2 separate regions of the Homo sapiens genome follow, and region 2 is linked to region 1. Evidence: promoter capture Hi-C in human tissues and cell types (Jung and others, 2019). All regions are on one chromosome and are shown on one strand. Each heading gives the region's core, a stretch centred on a gene start or on the middle of the fragment in contact. The rest is flanking DNA. Distances are from core to core; before and after follow the strand shown.

The links. The method cuts DNA at HindIII sites, captures the fragments that hold promoters and counts their contacts. A contact is called where the count stands out against the background at its distance.
Region 2: a contact is called between the fragment with the promoter of ZNF799 here and the fragment with the promoter of YIPF2 in region 1, in 1 of the 25 tissues and cell types used here (hippocampus).

Annotation. Positions count from the first base shown.
Region 1 is chr19:10,926,995-10,929,915 of GRCh38, forward strand. It overlaps YIPF2 (Yip1 domain family member 2), which reads right to left and starts at 1,645. Exons shown (of 10, transcript NM_001321439.2): 1 at 1,517-1,645; 2 at 1,386-1,446; 3 at 805-965; 4 at 636-722. The coding sequence starts at 1,416. It overlaps TIMM29 (translocase of inner mitochondrial membrane 29), which reads left to right and starts at 1,817. Exons shown (of 2, transcript NM_138358.4): 1 at 1,817-1,922; 2 at 2,020-2,921. The coding sequence starts at 1,829. The coding sequence ends at 2,708. RefSeq lists enhancers at 276-978, 979-1,679 and silencers at 1,893-2,172, 2,213-2,262. The HindIII fragment of the contact is 42,517 bases long and covers 1-2,921 here.
Region 2 is chr19:12,399,646-12,402,574 of GRCh38, forward strand. ZNF799 (zinc finger protein 799) reads right to left here and starts at 1,626. Exons shown (of 4, transcript NM_001080821.3): 1 at 1,423-1,626. The coding sequence starts at 1,425. RefSeq lists enhancers at 921-1,010, 1,731-1,780 and a silencer at 1,241-1,400. The HindIII fragment of the contact is 18,323 bases long and covers 1-2,929 here.

The DNA.
Region 1 (2,921 bases), core at 395-2,894:
GAGTAGCTGGGATTACAGGCGCCCACCACAAAGCCCGGCTAATTTTGTTGTATTTTTAGTAGAGACGGGGTTTCACCATGTTTGGCCAGGCTGGTCTCAAACTCCTGACCTCAGGTGATCCACCCACCCAGGCCTCTCAAAGTGCTGGGATTACAGGCATGAGCCACCCCGCACCCGGCAGTTTTTGTATTTTTGGTAGAGACGGGGTTTCCCCATGTTAGCCAGGCTGGTCTTGAACTCCTCAGGTTATCTGCCCACCTCGGCCCCCTTAAGTGCTGGGATTACAGGCAGGAGCCACTGCGCCCAGTCCATCTTTGGTCTTCTGCATATGCTGTTCCCTGTGCCTGGAACATATACTCCTGCTTCCCTACCCTATTCCCCAGGGAAGCCTTCTGTCTCCTTTAGGTCTCAGCCAATTCCTCACCTCCCCCAGGAGGCCTTTCTCTAACCCACCAGATTGTGTGTGTCCCCTGTGTTCCCATAGTCCCGATCCATAACCAGTCCCACCATAACCCTTTGAGAGCACCACAGTTCGTTCACCAGCACCCACCATCACCAGCACCCTGCCCAGGGGAAGAGTGGCTGAACCCTGAGCATAACTCTGAGCCCCATCCCACCTGCCTCCCCAGCCTGACCTGTGAGGTGTCCACGTCAAAGAAGCTCTGATAGTAGCTGAAGGTCCAGAATCCCGGCTGCTGCTGCTGCTGCTGCTCCTGCAGGAGCTGCACATTGCGGGCATTCAGTGCCTGCCCGGAGAGCCTGGGTCAGCTGGGGGCTGCAAGGAGGCAGGACACAGGGACTCACCGCGGCCTTGTCACTCTCCTCCTCCACCTCATCCTCGGCTCCATAGCTGCCACCTGAGCCCACGGCCACAGCCACGTGCCCTTGTGGGGTCAGCTGATCGCTTCTGCTGGTGGTGGCTGCATCTGGGGTGTCAGCCAGAAGATTAGTGGCCTCCTCGAATTCTGTGGAGGAGGTATATGGGACACACGCACGTTTGAGGGGTGGAAAGAACTCGACTGGGCCCAAGCTAAACCGATGCTCATCTGGGGGCGGAGGCTCTGCTGAGCCATTGATCTCCCCCAAGGTGGGGCCCAACTTCCTCAGTTTGGAGGCATCCGGAGGACATCTGTTCCCTTCCTCCTAAAGTGGAACTGCAACTTAGGGTTGACGCTGGGATGGGGTCAGGGTCTGGGGACGAGAGGCTCGGGTTTGAGGTCTGAGTTCAGGGCGGGGGCGGGGTTCGAGTCAGAGATGGGTCTCACTCCTGGGTCAGGGTTCACAGCCGCCTAGGCTTCGGGGTAGAGAAATTGGAAGCCGTATCGGGGGGAGGTTCTGGCCCGGGGCGGGAGTGGGAGATCCGGCCACGTCGGGGCCGCACTCACCATGGAAGGTCAGCTCGTCGGCCGATGCCATGGTCGTTCAGGGGCGTCTCCGCATCCCTCGCTGAGGACAGAGACCGGTCAGGCACACTTCCCCCCCGCCCCCGAGCCGGTCCCTCGGCCCCCAGCCCTACCTGGCGACCAACTGCACCCACGGAGGCTTGAACTCGTCGTCCCGTCCCCACAGGTGCGCTCCGCCCCCCCTCACCTGAGGCCACCTGGGCCGGCGTGGCTGGGGCTCTCTGCGCCTGCGCGTCTCGCCTACCCGTCAGACTCCAACCGACTCAGACCTGACAGCAACATCCGGCGCCTGTCCTCTTTCTATCCTCTCCCGTTGGGAAGCCACTTCCGGTAAAGTTGGCGCTTGCGCAGAAGAGACTCCCGGGCTCTTAACGTCGGGTATCAGGAGTTTCTTCCCGGAGCAAGGACCCCCAAGACGGAAGAGGATGGCCGCGGCGGCTCTGAGGAGATTTTGGTCCCGGCGCCGCGCAGAGGCGGGCGACGCGGTAGTGGCGAAGCCGGGAGTGTGGGCGCGGCTGGGTGAGTAGCGGCGGAAGGCGGCAGGGTGGGTGGCCGCCGCGACAGGGTGGGTGGCCGCCGCGGCCGGATCACTCTTACCGCGCTCCTCTCCCCTCAGGGTCCTGGGCCCGCGCGCTGCTCCGGGACTACGCCGAGGCCTGCAGGGACGCTTCGGCGGAGGCTAGGGCCCGGCCGGGGCGCGCCGCTGTGTATGTGGGTCTGCTGGGCGGCGCGGCGGCCTGCTTCACGCTGGCGCCCAGCGAGGGTGCCTTCGAGGAGGCGCTGCTGGAGGCGTCGGGGACCCTCCTGCTGCTGGCGCCGGCCACCCGCAACCGCGAGTCCGAAGCCTTCGTGCAGAGGCTGCTCTGGCTGCGGGGCCGTGGCCGCCTGCGCTACGTCAACCTGGGGCTCTGCTCGCTGGTGTACGAGGCGCCCTTCGACGCCCAGGCCAGCCTCTACCAGGCGCGTTGCCGCTACCTGCAGCCCCGCTGGACCGACTTCCCCGGCCGGGTCCTGGACGTGGGCTTCGTGGGTCGCTGGTGGGTGCTGGGGGCCTGGATGCGCGACTGCGACATCAACGACGACGAATTCCTGCACCTGCCGGCGCATTTGCGGGTGGTCGGGCCCCAGCAGCTGCATTCCGAGACCAACGAGCGGCTCTTCGATGAGAAGTACAAGCCTGTCGTGCTCACCGACGATCAGGTGGACCAGGCGCTGTGGGAGGAGCAGGTCTTGCAGAAGGAGAAGAAGGACAGGCTCGCCCTGAGCCAGGCCCACTCGCTGGTGCAGGCGGAGGCCCCGAGATGAAACCCTGAGGCCCCCGAGTCCTGGCAAACTGCTTGCCTGGGGTGGTGCAGTTCTGAGTGTGCCTCACCTGCAGAACAGCTGAGACAGATGATGTGCAAAGTGTTTTCTCACTGGATTTGCACAAGTTTGGGGAGCCTTTCTGCCCCCCGTCTTTGTTCTTTATTAGCTGAAGCTAATTCAGAGCCACCTGGGTCCGGGAGTTGGGGACAGCAG
Region 2 (2,929 bases), core at 376-2,875, 1.5 Mb after region 1:
TTTTTTTTTTTTTTTTGAGACAGGGTCGGCCTCTGTTGCCTAGGCTGGGATGCAGAGGCACGATCATAGCTCACTGCAACTTCAAACTCCTGGGCTCCAGCCATCATCCCACCTCAGCCTCAGGAGTAGCTGCGACTACAGGTGCCAGCTACCAAGCCCAGCTAATTTTATTATTATCATTTATACTAGAGACAAGGTCTTGCCATGTTGCCCAGGCTGGTCTGGAACTACTAAGATTAAGCAATACCTCTGCCTTAGCCTCCCAAGGTGCTGGAATTACAGGAATGACCCACCGTGTTCAGGAACCCAAAATAATTCTTTCAAGAAAAAGCCATACATTGCTAGCTGAAAACAAGATGACAAACTAGTGAAATATCGCCTGGGGGCCAAACAGTTCATACCGTTGCTGTGAATTAAGGACAGAAGGTTAGCCTGGGGAAGTCTCTGGAAACCAAGAGATTTGCTGCCAGCCCTAGGAGGAGTCAGGATGAGAGAACACAGTGGTGGATTTGAGACCCTGCTAACCACATCTTTGGAAGACTCAGAGGGGAAACGGTCGCCCTTGGAAAGAAAGAAGGGACTGAGGACCACGGAGACCACAGCTCCTCCCACACACAAACCCCACACACGAGTCTGGATTCCACCTGGTGACTCGTCGTCACCGTGCAGCCTCCTCACCGGGTTCACAGGAACTGCGAGCCAGGCTGGAGGCGAGATTGCAGTTAGATATTAACCAGGTGCCCTCAGCCCCGCTGCCTCAAGGGGCCGCCTCCCTGAGAGTCAGGTCACAGCAGACGCTGACCGCCGGCTTCCCCATTGTGCCTGGGGATAAGATCTCTGAGAACTGCTCAAGAGTCGCCGGAGTTCTCAGATCCTGAATCCCAGCAAAGGCTGGCGCCAATCAGGTTGAAGTCCCAACGAGGGAGCCCATTCAGCAGAATGCGGTTTCTTCACCTCCTGTCCCAGGATTCACCCCTCACTTCCCCACCAACCAACGACCCTACACCCAGCCGCCCCCGTCCAGACCCCAAATCCCTCAGGGAGGCGGATCTGGGGTGTCCTCCCCTCTCTGGCTATTAAACTGTTTCTGCTGCAGCCCTCAGCGTCTCGGTGCAGTGAGTCGGGCCGCGAACCTGTGTTGCTTACAGCCGCACAATCTCGGGAGACGCGAGGCTGCGGGCGCGGAGCTGCCCAGAGAGGGCGCCGGGGCCGCAGTCGCCGCGCAGGAACGGGACAGGACGCCCGGGGTCCCGGCTGCATGCCCAGCCCCACCCTGCGGCCGAGGGCCGACCTACGCCAGGGGAACCCGGGTCCGTAGATCCCGGAGTAGCCCTTGGGGAGGCCCGGGTCCAGCCACAGCCGATTACTGCAGGTTCCACCCAGCCCCTCCCCCGCCTCGGGACGCCGGCCCAGCACACGCACCATTTCCCGACTTCCGCGGTGTCCCAGGTCCTCCGGACGGCTCCCGCTGCCAATGCGGGTTCCCGCGGGACACAGGCTGCCACGGAACTTCCAGGTCGTCTCTTAGCTACAGAGCCGAGCACCGAGCGCCCAGCGCAGGTGGGTGGAGAAGACGCCGCGGGCTTTTTCAACCACACACTCCTCTGGGAAGCGCGCCTGATTGACAGTTCCCACGAACCCGCCCCACGGCCCTTACTGGATACGGCGTCAGGTGCCGCCCCTCGTGGACTGATTGACAGAAGAAGCGATCTTGCACAGCTGAGTGGAGCCAGATGAGCAAGTTCCTGACACAGCCCTTGGCAGGGCGGGCTTCCTCCCTGCTCTTTGATCTGAATCCTCCCGAGGGATATTTGCACTTAAGCGGAATTTCCTGCCTGTACTCAATAGGACCTCCTGCTTCTTCCTCCTGTACACTGACTGACAAAACAATTATACTTTTTTTTTTTTTTTTTTTTTTTTTTCCGAGAGAGAGAGAGAGAGAGAGAGAGAGAGAGGGAGTCTTGCTCCGTGGCTCAGGCTAGAGTGCAATGGTGCGAGGCTCACTGCGACCTCCGCCTCCTAGGTGGGTTCAAACAATTCTGCCTCAGCCTCCCGAGTAGCTGGGATTACAGGTGCGCGCCACCACACCCGGCTAATTTTTGTATGTTTTAGTAGAGGCCGGGTTTCACCATGTTGGCCAGGCTGGTCTCGAACTCCTGACCTCGTGATCCGCCCACCTTGGCCTCCCAAAGTTCTGGGATTAGAGACGTGAGCCATCGCGCCTGGCTCCAATTATACTCTTTTTCAATGAAATTTTTCAAAATATTTCAATGTACAATTAAATTATTTTTTACTATAGTCACTCTGTTGTGCTAGCAAATACTAGGTCTTATTCATTCTTTGTAACTATTTTTTATACCTATTAACCATCCCCACTTCCCCCATAACTACTCCTCGCTACTACTTTTCCCAGCCTGTGGTAACCATCCTTCTACACGTTTTTGGTTGTTTGAGATGGGGTCTTGCTCTGTTGCCTAGGCTGGAGTGCAGTGGGGCCATCATGGCTCACTGCAACCTCTACCTCCCAAGCTCAAGCAATCCTCCCACCTCAGCCTCTCAAGTAGCTTCAGATTGTTCACTGTTGGCATATAAAAATGTTACTGATTTTTGTATGTTAATATTGTATCCTGCAACTTTACTGAATTTATTTCTCAGTTCTAATACTTTTTTGGTGGAGTCTTTAGGTATTTCCAGATATAAGATCATATTATATGCAAACCAGGATAATTTGACTTCTTCCTTTCCTTCCCAATATAGATGCCCTTTATTTCTTTTTTTTTTTTTTTTTGGACTTATTGCTCTAGCTGGGACTTCGAGTACTGTGCTGAACAACAGTGGTAAAAGTGGGCATTCTTATTGTGTTCCAGATCTTACAGGAAAGGCTTTCAGTTTTTCCTCATTCATTATCATGCTAGCTGTGGGTCTGCCA